Linked DNA regions of Homo sapiens: region 1 is linked to region 2. The links are contacts of gene promoters, found by promoter capture Hi-C in blood cells and fetal thymus (Javierre and others, 2016). All regions are on one chromosome and are shown on one strand. Each heading gives the region's core, a stretch centred on a gene start or on the middle of the fragment in contact. The rest is flanking DNA. Distances are from core to core; before and after follow the strand shown. Region 1 holds the start of TSPEAR-AS1 (TSPEAR antisense RNA 1). Region 2 holds the start of SLC19A1 (solute carrier family 19 member 1).

Region 1 (5,426 bases), core at 1,769-4,268, 1.0 Mb before region 2:
AGCCCTCGGGGGGAAGCAAGGCTCTGGGAGGAAGCTGGCCTCGGTGAGCCCTCAGGGGGAAGCAAGACTCTGGGAGGAGGCCGGCCTCGGTGAGTCCTCGGGGGGAAGCAAGGCTCTGGGAGGAGGCCGGCCTCGGTGAGCCCTTGGGTGGAAGCCGGCCTTGGTGAGCCCACAGGGGGGAAGCAAGGCGCTGGGAGGAGGCCGGCCTTGGTGAGCCCACGGGGGGAAGCAGTGTGCTGGGAGGAAGCTGGCCTCGGTGAGCCCTCGGGGGGAAGCAAGGCTCTGGGAGGAGGCCGGCCTTGGTGAGCCCTCGGGGGGAAGCAAGGCTCTGGGAGGAAGCCGGCCTCGGTGAGCCCTCGGCGGGAAGCAAGGCTCTGGGAGGAGGCCGGAGTTGGTGAGCCCTCGGGGGGAAGCAAGGCTCTGGGAGGAAGCCGGCCTCGGTGAGCCCTCGGGGGGAAGAAAGGCTCTGGGAGGAGGCCGGCCTTGGTGAGCCCTTGGGGGGAAGCCGGCCTTGGTGAGCCCACAGTGGGGAAGCAATGTGCTGGGAGGAAGCTGGCCTCGGTGAGCCCTCAGGGGGAAGCAAGGCGCTGGGAGGAGGCCGGCCTTGGTGAGCCCTTGGGGGGAAGCCGGCCTTGGTGAGCCCACAGCGGGGAAGCAAGGCTCTGGGAGGAAGCCGGCCTCGGTGAGCCCTCGGCGGGAAGCAAGGCTCTGGGAGGAGGCCGGAGTTGGTGAGCCCTCGGGGGGAAGCAAGGCTCTGGGAGGAAGCTGGCCTCGGTGAGCCCTCGGGGGGAAGCAAGGCGCTGGGAGGAGGCCGGCCTTGGTGAGCCCTTGGGGGGAAGCCGGCCTTGGTGAGCCCACAGGGGGGAAGCAATGTGCTGGGAGGAAGCTGGCCTCGGTGAGCCCTCGGCGGGAAGCAAGGCTCTGGGAGGAGGCCGGAGTTGGTGAGCCCTCGGCGGGGAAGCAAGGCTCTGGGAGGAAGCCGGCCTCGGTGAGCCCTCAGCAGGAAGCAAGGCTCTGGGAGGAAGTTGGCCTCGGTGAGCCCTTGGGGGGAAGCTGGCCTTGGTGAGCCCACAGTGGGGAAGCAAGGCTCTGGGAGGAAGCCGGCCTCAGTGAGCCCACAGTGGGGAAGCAAGTCTCTTGGAGGAGGCCGGCCTTGGTGAGCCCACAGTGGGGAAGCAAGACTCTGGGAGGAAGCCGGCCTCGGTGAGCCCTCGGGGGGTAGCTGGCCTCGGTGAGCCCTCAGGGGGAAGCAGGGCTCTGGGAGGAAGCCGGCCTCGGTGAGCCCTTAGGGGGAAGCAAGGCACTGGGAGGAAGCTGGCCTCGGTGAGCCCTCGGGGGAAGCAAGTCTCTTGGAGGAAGCTGGCCTCGGTGAGCCCTCGGGGGAAGCAAGGCTCTGGGAGGAAGCTGGCCTCAGTGAGCCCACAGTGGGGAAGCAAGGCTCTTGGAGGAGGCCGGCCTCGGTGAGCCCACAGTGGGGAAGCAAGGCTCTGGGAGGAGGCCGGCCTCGGTGAGCCCACAGTGGGGAAGCAAGTCTCTTGGAGGAGGCCGGCCTCGGTGAGCCCACAGTGGGGAAGCAAGTCTCTTGGAGGAGGCCGGCCTCGGTGAGCCCACAGTGGGGAAGCAAGTCTCTTGGAGGAGGCCGGCCTCGGTGAGCCCACAGTGGGGAAGCAAGTCTCTTGGAGGAGGCCGGCCTCGGTGAGCCCACAGTGGGGAAGCAAGGCTCTGGGAGGAGGCCGGCCTCGGCAGCTCATTACCTGTAAATAATACTGTTCACCGAGAAGGTACGCCCATCGAAGGAGTTGGCCACCACCAGGAAATAATCTTCTCCCACCGAGAAAAACTCCCAGTCCAGAGCACTGCAGGAACAAGTGGGTGGATATTAGGACACAACAGACATCGCCAGGGAACTGGGGGATTGGCCAGAAGCTACCTCCAAAATTTATAGAGGAGGAGCCGGGGCCAAAGTGGGGAGTGATTTTCTCACAGTCACATATGTGTTGGTCTATTCCAGGAAAATGTAAATTAGTTGTTTGCTTAAAAAAAATTTCAAATTTTATTTTATTTTATTTTTGAGATGGAGTCTCATTCTGTCACCCAGGCTGGAGTGCAGTGGCGAGATCTCGGCTCACGGCAACCTCTGCCTCTCGGATTCAAGCGATTCTCCTGCCTCAGCCTCCCGAGTAGCTGGGATTACAAGTGTGCGGCACCACGCCCGGCTAATTTTTGTATTTGTAGTACAGACAGGGTTTCACCATGTTGTCCAGGCTGGTCTTGAACTCCTGACCTCAAGTGATCTGCCCACCTCAGCCTCCCAAAGTGCTGGGATTACAGGCATGAGCCACCATGCCTGGCCTCAAATTTTAAATTATGGTAAAATACATATAACATAACATTTCCCACCTCAACCATCTTTAGGTGCACAGATCAGGGGCATTAAGCACATTCATACTGCTGTGTGGCCGCCCCCACCATCCACCTCCAGAACGCCTTCATCCTGCAAAACCGAAGCTCTGCACCCAGTAAACATCACCCCCTCCCCCCTCCCCCCCCCCCCCCCCCCAGCCCCGGCACCCACCACGCCACTTTCTGTCTCTATGAATTTGACCACTCTAGGGACCTCATATGAATGGAATCGCACGGTATTTGTCCTTTGTGTCTGCCTTAGCTGAGACTCCAGTGACTCAAGGTTCATCCGTGTCGCACTGTGTGTCAGAATCGCCTTCCTTTCTAAGGCCGAGTAACGCTCCGCTGTGTGAATGGACACGTTGTGTTTGTCCATCCGCTGACAGACACTTGGGGAATTTCCTCCATGTGGCTACTGTGAATGCTGCTGCTATGAACACCGGGGTACAAAAGTCCACTTTTAAGAGGTTGAAACAATCAGAGAAAAAGTCTCAGGCTGCTGGTGCCTGCTGGAGGCAGGAGCTTGGTTTCCCGCTCTGGACACTGTGCAGAAATGGCGTCACAGTGCTGTGGCCTCTGTGCCTGGTTTCTTCTCTCAGCATTGTGTCTTCAGCTGTGAGGTCAGCGGCCGTGAGGTCACTCCAGGAGGTGCCTACAGGACCTGCAGGACCTGCTCGTTCACAGATGTTCTCCTAGAAGCAGAAGCTGTTTCTTGTTGCAAACAAATTTGCTGTGTCCTGTCTTAGGAGTCTCACCTGAATTTACCAAGGATGCATCTGTGCTTGGGGATGGCTCGGTTTGAGGGGTCTGAGGAGCGGCTCCCCTGGATCCTTTCCTCCCCAGGAGCCCACCTGCCGAGCTGTCAGCGTCAGCCCCACATCTCAAGATGAGGAAATGGAGGTCGAAGCCATGCACACGCAGGCGTCCTGCTGACATGCAGGCCAGGCGGGTGCCTCTGTATTCAGCAGCCTCAGGGCTGTGGCCAGTTCAGGCAGCAGAGGGGCCTCATCCCGGTGCTTCCCTGCAGGCAGTTGTGGGGCCGGCCTGCAGCAGGGGCTCAGACAGGGCCTTGGGAGAGGGAGGGATCACAGAGGTGTCCAGTGACAGGCAGGGCGGGCAGAGCCCATGGGGCCTTGGGCTCCTCACTCCTTCGGTCAGTCAGGGTGACATCTGGAGCCACCTCCATTAATGGTGGGTTATGATTTGGTTCCCATGCAGCCCGTGCCAGCTCGCTGGGAGGAGGACGAGGACGCCTGTGATCACATGCTCTGGTCTGGAGGCACGGCCGCGGGCCCCGGGTCAGTGTGAATCCGCGGGGTTACTCCTCAGTCGGATCTGAGCTCTGAAACCCAGACCCGAGGAAGACAAGCGGCCACGTCGGATGTACCAGTGGTGGAAGATCCTGTCCGGCTGCACCGAGGCTCACATCAGAAGCCGGCTTCGGTTTCACCACAAAATAAGGCATCTAGTGCCCGATTCTGCCTCCAAAGCAGCCCTGGGTCACACTCGCTGTAGGACAGATGTTATTCTTCAGAATCACGCCCTCTGGCAAATGCCCATCATCGGACAAATGGACGGATGAAGTGTGACTCAGCCATGAGAAGGGGGATGCTCTGAGCCGCGCGGCCACACCACCAACCCGGAGGACACGGTGCTGCGAGAAAAAGCCAGGTACAGAGGCCACGGCTCTACGAGTCCATTTCTGTGCAGTGTCCAGAACGGGAAATCACAGAGACAGGAAGTGGGCCCGGGGGTGCCCAGTTGGGAGGGAGGGGCTGGAAAAGGGTGTGGGGGGCTCCTTGTGAGGGGATGAGAATGTTCCAGAGTTGTCTGCAGCCATGGCTGCACATATCTGTGGATTTAATAGAACTACTGAATCTAAAAAGCAAACACAAGCGACCATTTGAAGGCAGTCAGAGCCAAGGTTACACACAGAAGCCACAAAACCCCTCAGCGCCCTTGAATAGGGTTTTGGACTTGGTGAGGCCACATCACGTCTCCGGGAAGTGTAGGGAATTCCCCATGCTGGGTAGAAGGGCTAGGAGTTTGACTTGTGTGTGCTGTTTTGATGGTAATTATTAAACATTACCTTAATTAATTGGTAAGTACTTTCTGTGTTTCATAATTTAGTTCATAAACTGTCCATACCACTGTCCAGTGGTGACAGGGCCATAAGTCGCGAGTGTGTAGCTGTGTTCTGTCAGTTCCCGCAGCTTTCAAATCCCGAGGCGTCTGCCTCATCTGTTTCTAGACTGGGCATCATGTCCATGACTAATTTTTAATCACAATTCATTCTCCAACTTGTCTTATTCTAAATGTTGTTCTAAAAAGCCTAATGTTTGTTTTGTTCTCGGCGTTGACATTGGATGGCGTGGATTCGTGCTGGGGACACACAACTGCCACCGCCGCCCCGTGCCTGTTTCTCCTGCCATGGCTGCCAGGCCACGCAGGGGCCACGGAGCCCACAGGCAGGTCACCCCGGAATCCCCAGTGCCCCCAGCAGACACCGCCGCTGGCTCTTTTTCTTTATTATGAGTGTTCTTTTTTTAATTTTTAAAAATCATATAAGTAAGATATTAGTAAGTTAACATTGTCATCCTTTGTAAAGCCAGGAGTTCAGAAGTAACAGGGCAAATAGGGAAAGTCCTTCCTGGCCTGTCTACATACCCCTGCAGCCCTCCCGGTCCTAGGGTGACTGCTGACGGAGAGGGCACTCCCTTCCCGAGTCTTCTCTGCACGTCCGTGGGCACGCACAGCTGAGCGGCACACAGCAGCCCGGCTCGCTCCTCCGCACTGGGGACACAAGATTTCACTGCACCTCACCCAGCCCTTTCCACAGAGCAGTTCATCTTGGAGACTCTTCCCCTCGAAGGGTCTAAAGGTATGTGTTGTTGTGTGTCTCAAGCTGAGATTAGAGCCCAGTGCCCAGGAGGGGCAGGTGAATTGTTACCGAATGAAATAGGAGTGCATGAAACCCGAGGAAACCTGGGAAAGCCGCCTGCTCCATCCCAGGATGGGAATGG
Region 2 (7,277 bases), core at 3,375-5,874:
GATGAAGCTCTCCCCTGGCCGTATCTGCGCCATGAAGCCGTAGAAGCAAAGGTAGCACACGAGGTGCCGCCAGGACCGGAGCTCGGGGTCAGGCCCAGGTTCCACGGGCACCTGCTTCTCCACCGCTGGGCTGGAGGGCACCATCCTGCTCAGGCCACGTGCAGCTCCGGAGGGGACGAAGGTGACGCTGTGCCTGGAAGGAGGGGTGGAGTCAGGGCACCTTGGAAGATGGTCTGCAGGCCTCCCTACCCCGCAAAACGAGGCCCAGTGCCGGCCTCCTCGCCACTCAGGACCAAACGCCACCCTGGAGACGAATGCAGACCCCAGACCCATCCTCACCCCGTAGCACCAAACTGGGAGCCACCCACACCTGAGCTGCTCCGGAGTCCCCCAGGCCAGGCTGTCACCACCTCCAGGGTCTCCGAGGCTGAGGGAAGTCTCCAGCCACATGGAGTGATTTAAGTGCCAATCAAAACCAAGTTAATTAACTAATTGACTTACTTTATTAACTAAACTAACAAAATTTAGGGTTTGGGGCCACACTAGACTCATGGCACTGCTGGGCAGTACCTGTGGCGGTCAGGGGGCACACCTCACCCCACAGGCCTGAGGGCAGCCCACGTGCCTGCTGCTGCTCTAGCGGCACCCAGGTGGCCCAGGGAGGGCACAGGCAGGAACGGACGCTGCTGGAGGCCGGGGTCACACCACAGGTGGCCAGCGGCGGGTGGCTGCAGGTACCAGCCTCAGGTCCCCATCAGCCGCGTGCCCTGGCAGGAGGGCGTGCAGGCCAAGCCCACAGTGAGGGAAGGGCAGAGGGAAAAGCAGGTGTCCTTGAGGGGGCTGAGAGCAGCCAGGGTTGAAACACGCGTGGGAGGGAGGATGGGATGGAGCCGAGGCCCAGCCCCTGAGCCCAGGGACCCCAGCATCCCCGGCGGCAGGTTACCCTAGACGAAAGCAGCTGGCAGGAGCCATGAGTGGACCTGACACGTTCCAGATGGAGCACCCCAGACCACAGGACTTCATCCACGAGGCAACATGCACCCAACCTTGGGGACCATCCCGCCAGCACCCCCGCCCCACACGGCCAGGGCACGTGGTGGAGCAGCAGCAGCACGAAGCACACTCGAGGGCGTGTCTCTTTCAGTCCTGATTCTGCCCAGGAGAAAGGCTCCTCCGGTGCGGGCAAGGGCACGTCTCACCACCACAAATCGTGCCTTTCAGCTGCGGGGCAAAAGCCTGTCCACTTATCAGAATCATGTCTCCAGGTGCCACGTGGCCCTGGTTTTCCATTAAGGCCTCGGTGTAAAGTTCTCCTTCAAGTAAGTCAAAAGTGAACTGCCATAAACAAGTGTGTCAGACGCCCACACCAAGCCAACCCCGTGAGGCCAGGACCTGGCCCTGGTCCCCCACAGGTGCACCTCACGTCTGTATCAGCTGACCTCTGCTCCCGGAGGCCAGGCCTGGCAGAGTGCACGTGGAAAGGCCATCTGCTGCTCAGGTGGGGTGGGGATGCAGCGCATGCAGAGGGCAGCTGAGCAGCCTTGTGGGGCGGGGTCGCCGTCCCATCTGCACTGGGCTGACAGTTGGACAATTGTGCCTCGCCACAGGGCCGGCTTGGGAGGGTGGCAGGGGGTCTGCAGAGGGTCTGGATTTGAGAAGTCTCCTCCAACCCTCCAGCAGGGGCTCAGAGCATCCCTCGATGTGGGGCCAGCTTTGGGGGTCCAGGGACCCCTAGGAAAATCTGCCCCAGGCTCTCAGCATTCAGTCTTCACGTATCAGAGACCACTCAGGCTGGAAGTGCTCCCTGAACCGCCCCCAACCTGACACACAGGCTTAGGAAAAAGGTGGCCTTCAGGGACCAGAGAGAGAGACCCTCCCCAGGCCACTTAGGCAAAGCCATCAGCATCATCTGGGGTCCCGTCTTGACACCTCTACACACTCATGTCTGTGACAAAGGAACATAGGTGATGGCAGGGAAGCCCTTAAGAGGCAGAGGCTGGTGGGCTTGCAATGGGGGCCGCAGGGAAGAGGGGGAAGGGTTAGGGGAACCTCGAGGTTTCCGGAGCTCCACGGCAGGGCACAGCTGGGAAGAAGATGGGACCAGCACCCTCCATTGGAGGCAGCCAGGACCCTAGAAGTTCTCAAAGGGCCAGGATGAAAACAGCCGGCCAGGCAGGAGGAAGCGCAGGCAGGGGCCACTGCCAGGCCGAGGCAGATCTGACGGTCGCCTGCCTCGGCCTCACCTTCCATGCCTCCTCAGGGCCTGTCAACAGCTGGGAAGATCAGTGCACAAAGGTTGGGCTCCATCACCAGGGACCCTGATGCCCAGAGAGGCCACGGGTAGAGCTGGACATACCTCAGACCGCACCCACTCCTCCCCACTGGGAGACCCATTTGGCCCTGGGACTCCCTGTCAAGTTCACTTTCCCACCTGTCAGCAGGTTTAGACAGGCGCACCGATCCCCAGACAACCAGAGCAACCAGATCGCCGCAGACAACGGGGAGCCATCAGGAGCTGAACTAAGCCCAGGGTCTGCGCCCACAGTCCATGGCCGCAGGAGTCAGATCCCCACCCACAGGACCCCCAGGGGCCCGGGAGCCCTGGGTACTTGGGCCCCCTGTTCTGAAAGGTGCCACCTCCAGAAGCGACCAGAACATTCCTTCCTTGGAGAGACAGCCAGAGTCTCCGCCAGCAAGGGGCTGCTGCTGGTCTTAACAGTCAGCCTCTGCTGCCAGCATACTCAACTTATGTGCCGTGAACGTAGCCCACTGACAGAGGCTTGGCCATCACGGCCCAGACCACCTCCAAGAGGAAAGATAGGGAACTTGGTCACCATCATAGAAACGCAGCCCCAAGCCAGGGGACGCCTAGACTCCAAGTGTCCAGACCCCAGCCCAGTCCCATACAGCTTGAGGCCTCTTCCCGGCATCTGAAGGAAGTCCCCGACCAGACAGGAGGGCCACGGGGAAGCAGAGAGAATCCCTGCCTTCAGGAGAAGGTTGTAACAGCCCCTGCAAATCCCCGGCCCCACTGTCCACAGTGACCAGCCCCACCCAGGCCCTGTCCTTCCAAGCACCAGAGAAGGCCAGAGACCCGCAATCAAAACACAAGCAAACGCCACCTATCATTCCGTGTTTAAACCAGCTCCTACTCTGGAAGGCTAACCAAGAATGTTCGTTATGTTTTTTAGAACGCCTGCTAGTTTAAAAAGAAGAAGAAGAAAGCATTGCACACCCTCCCACCCCTGTTCAGATGACCAAGTTCAGGGTTCCTAACAGCATAATTAGACCCTCCGGCTATCACTGCTGCAGGCCCAAACACCCGAGAAGCACTCTTTCTCATCTGTGTCCAGCAGAGATAACTGTACTATCTGGAATTATAAAAATCCACCAAAGCCCCTTCGGAAAGAAAGCAATTAGCAATTGCAACAAGCAGTGCACAGGTGGCACCCAGGCAAAGGCGGCCAGTGAGATGCAGCCTGGCTCCCAGGCCTGGACAGGGCAGGCAGGTGCACTGGGCCAGAGGCACCTCGGCTCTGCTGATTGAATCTGGGCTGTGCGGGGATCCTCGGGTCTCCGTAGGGGGAGGCCACCTCTTTACAGGGCGGCCAACAGGCGCCTCCAAGGACTTTATCCCACCTTCCCTCTGGATGCATTCTGGATTTCGGGGCCAGCTTAGTTGGCCTGTGTCCTGAGGCCAGGCAGGCCAGACTCCCCAGGACAGGAGTTTCCGATGGACAGGACCCTAGGGGGATGGCTTTCCTGCTGTAGCGGTGTTGGAAGGACCCACTCGGGAAAGGCTCCAGCGGCTGTCCAGGCTCTCTCTGAGACGCCTCGGGATTGCTCCGCTGGATCCGCACCCACAGCTGCTCCAAGGGGAAGTTGCACCTACAAAGCTTCTGGCACAGGAGACAATGGTCTGGAGATGTGCCAGGGGCCCGCCCCACGCGTGGCTGGCAGGGTTCACCCACCGGCTGGCCCGTCCCGAAGCAACACGTGCCTGGGCGCGAACGCCGGATCCACGCTTTCCTCCAGACCCGGGGGTGGGACTTGGCGCCCCAGGATGACGCGGAGGGCAGGCTGGGGGCCGGGACTCCCCACCCCATTCGCAGGCTGCGGCGGAAAGCGAGCGGCGGGAAACCCGCTGCACAGCAACGGTTCTGCCAGGCGCCCGGGCCACCGCGACCCCCGCGGAGACCCCGGCCCACGCCCCGCACCCTCCCCAGGGCCCCCCAGACCCCAGGCTGCAGACCGCAGACCCCGGCCACGCCCCGCACCCTCCCCAGGGCCCCCCAGACCCCAGGCTGCAGACCGCAGACCCCGGCCCACGCCCCGCACCCTCCCCAGGGCCCCGCGGACCCCAGGCTGCAGACCGCAGACCCCGGCCCACGCCCCGCACCCTCCCCAGGGCCCCGCGGACCCCAGCGCCAGCCCCCACACTCACCTCACAGGGCCCTGCAAACCTCGGCCCGCGCCCCGCACTCACCCCAGGGCCCCGAGACACCCCGCAGCCCCCGACACGCGGCCCCGTGGCCCCGTTCCCCACCGGTACCTGCGACTCGGCGGGGCGGCTGCCCTGGGGCTCCCGGACCCGGCCCCGCGCACGCGGACTCCGGGACTACAGCGCCCACAAGGCGGCGCGGCGGGCGCGCGGCTGCGGGGTGGGCGGGTCCGTCCCGCCGAACGCGTCCTGAGGGCGGGGCCTCGCGCGTGGCCGGGCGCTGCGGCAGGAGCGTCCCCACGGGGCACCCTCCCACCCACGGCCGTCTCCCAGCCCCGGCGCCGGCCTCTCCCCACCCGGTCACCGCCGGGGTCACGCGGCCCCTCGTGCTGCGGCCCTACCCCTGGGGCCGCCCCCTGACCCCGACCGCCCCTCGGGCCCCCACCCCCGCCGGCGTCAGCATCCTGGGGTGCCACTCGCGGAGGTGTCGGTCCCTCGGGCGGGCACCCTGCCATCCCTCTCCCCCGCGTTCTTCCCACCCCCGGTCCCCTCCTGACCCCCCCTCCTCGACGAGGCCTTGTGCGTTTTCCTTTTGGCACCCTGGAACACCTGCATTCCTGGCCGCAAGCTGGATCCGGGACGCGGGTCGGGCCCACGCGCCCTCAGGGGTGGCCCTGGGCCGCCTTCGTGGGGCTCCAACAGGGACACGCACAGCCTGCTCTTGGGGACCGCACGGCCCCGAACTCGGCGCCCCCGGGACCCCGCCGCCCGCCCTCCTGCCTGACCGTGACCCGTACGGGCTTGTACCAAGGAGCAAGCCGGATCCAGGACGTGGCCCGGGGCCACCAGTCCCCATCCCAGCAGGGACAGCCCGGGGGAGACCCGCGCAGGCCTCGCAGACGGCAGCGCAGTCACACTCAGGAAGGGGGGCCTGGGCCACTCTCCCAGGAAGGCGTGGGGCTGCGGCAGACAGCACCGCCGAAAGCCCAAGGCCTGTGCAGGACACGGGGAGAAGTGGGGGGCCTCAGGGTCACTTTCCCCTGGAGTTACCCAGGGCCTGGCTATGGGGAGGGAAGCCAAGCCGAGGGCTGTGGGGGCCCCAAGGCTAAGGAGGAGCCAGGAAGTCCACTGCACAGAACAGAAGGGGACGGCCACCGTGGTACCCACAGCTCAAGAGTGCGGGTCCCAGGCGAGGGGTGAGTCTGGGGCAGCAGCCCCTGGAATGTACCCCTTCCGGAGTGTAGACAGCACAATCCGCGACCTGCCTCCTGGTGTTGCGGGGGTGCTCTTGGTCTCCCGCCCACCAGCAGGGCAACCCCACCAGGAAGCCAACACAGGGCCCTTGCCCTAAATGGCCGCCTGCCCAAAGCTCTGGCCTGGGCCTTCTTTCCAGAGTCCTGAGTGTAGCAAGCCACACGAACAAATCTCAAAGGAACTTAAAAAGGATTTGTTGGCTGGAAATGGGGGATCTGGGGTAGCTTGCAGAATTTAAGGGAACACTACAGGATGGAGCGCCTCACCTGGAGGGACCCCCTGCTTTGTGGGAGCCCTGGCTCTCTCCCCTGTACTGGCCTTCTCCACGGGTGGGCAGAACCTGGCCCTGCTGGAAGACAGGAGGGGCAACGCGGAGGAGGAGGGGCCCTTCCTTCCCTCCAGGCAGAGAGGAGCCAGCCATGGGGCCAGCTCGCCAGGGCAGCCTGCTCCCTTTACACGCAGGACAGGCCAGGAAGCCGAGGGGAAGTGGGGATGAACAGCAGCGGGGCTCCTAGACCCCTTCCCACAGAAGGATGGCTCCCACCCCCTTCCCGCCTGGAGACAGCAAGGCAGGGAGCCACAGCCCCAAGGGGACCCCGCAGGACCCACAAAGACCAGTCCCTCACCTGTCTCTCCGGTCAGGTGTAGCCGAGCGAATCCGCCCCCGGCCGCGAGGGGCCTGCCCAAGCTGCCCTCGGGTCCCCCTGCGTGGCAGGAGTCCTGGGAGTTCCCCAGCCACACAAGGCCCAGGTTTCCTGCAGGAGCTGCTTCGGAGTGGGGAGGTAGGGCTTCTGCCACCAACAGCACTTGGCAGTTGTAATCTAGAGGCAGCTGCTCTGAGGGAAGAGCCAGGAGACTCGTGAAGAACTTACAGAAACCTCCATTGAGGACTGCGAGGAGTGGCCACAGACAGTGGGGCGTGGGCTTCCAGAGGGCTCCACCCAAAATAGAGATTTACAAACGCAGGTGACTTGGGAGTGACACTGGCATCTGGGAATGGATCCTGTGCTTGGGCCCTCACGAGCCTCCAGCGGTCCCCGTCCTTGCGTGTTTCATTATCGGTTTGTCAAATAGTTAAGTGCCTGAGCGTCAGGGATGGCAGGGAGAGCTGGTCCCTGGGAGAAGCCCTGGGTTGGAGGGATCAGCAGGGGCCCAGCAGTGTGGATCCCGGCCCTCCAGCCTGTAGGCTCCAGCCATATACAGTGATGTCTGGGGGCTGCAGGCCGCAGAGACCCCTTCCCCTCCTGGAGGGGCTCAGGTGGGCTCTGCAGCCCACCCCACAGCAGTGCCCCATCCCCAGCTCCTGGGCCCCCACTCCCCGGCAGCCTTAGCACCCATAGTCCAGGCCCAAGAAATCTCTGCCAGAGAATGAGGACCCTGCCCACCCACTGCCTTCTGAGACCAACCGGCCAGTCCTCTGCCTTGGCTGGAGAGACGCAGGGCTGTCCCTGTGGTTAAGGTCCCCGTCAGCATAGGGAGGCAGTGGCATTCGAGCAGCCCTTTCCCTCAGCTGGTGCTGTTGTGGTGGCTGTGGCTCTGGAAGCAAGGCTTGGACCAAATGCTAATACATGGACACACATGC

The links. Contacts are between HindIII fragments. The CHiCAGO score rates a contact against its expected background, and 5 or more counts as called.
Region 1: a contact is called between the fragment with the promoter of TSPEAR-AS1 here and the fragment with the promoter of SLC19A1 in region 2, in 3 of 17 cell types (M0 macrophages, erythroblasts and total B cells). The highest score is 5.8, in M0 macrophages.

Annotation. Positions count from the first base shown.
Region 1 is chr21:44,503,026-44,508,451 of GRCh38, forward strand. TSPEAR-AS1 (TSPEAR antisense RNA 1) reads left to right here and starts at 3,019. Exons shown (of 7, transcript NR_103707.1): 1 at 3,019-3,303; 2 at 3,622-4,074; 3 at 5,012-5,284. TSPEAR (thrombospondin type laminin G domain and EAR repeats) reads right to left here. Exons shown (of 12, transcript NM_144991.3): 11 at 1,755-1,856. RefSeq lists enhancers at 137-656, 5,362-5,426. The HindIII fragment of the contact is 6,455 bases long and covers 1-5,426 here.
Region 2 is chr21:45,537,816-45,545,092 of GRCh38, forward strand. It overlaps SLC19A1 (solute carrier family 19 member 1), which reads right to left and starts at 4,625. Exons shown (of 6, transcript NM_194255.4): 1 at 4,553-4,625; 2 at 1-193. The coding sequence starts at 144. RefSeq lists silencers at 4,059-4,118, 4,469-4,778, 4,819-4,898 and an enhancer at 4,753-5,265. The HindIII fragment of the contact is 3,738 bases long and covers 3,895-7,277 here.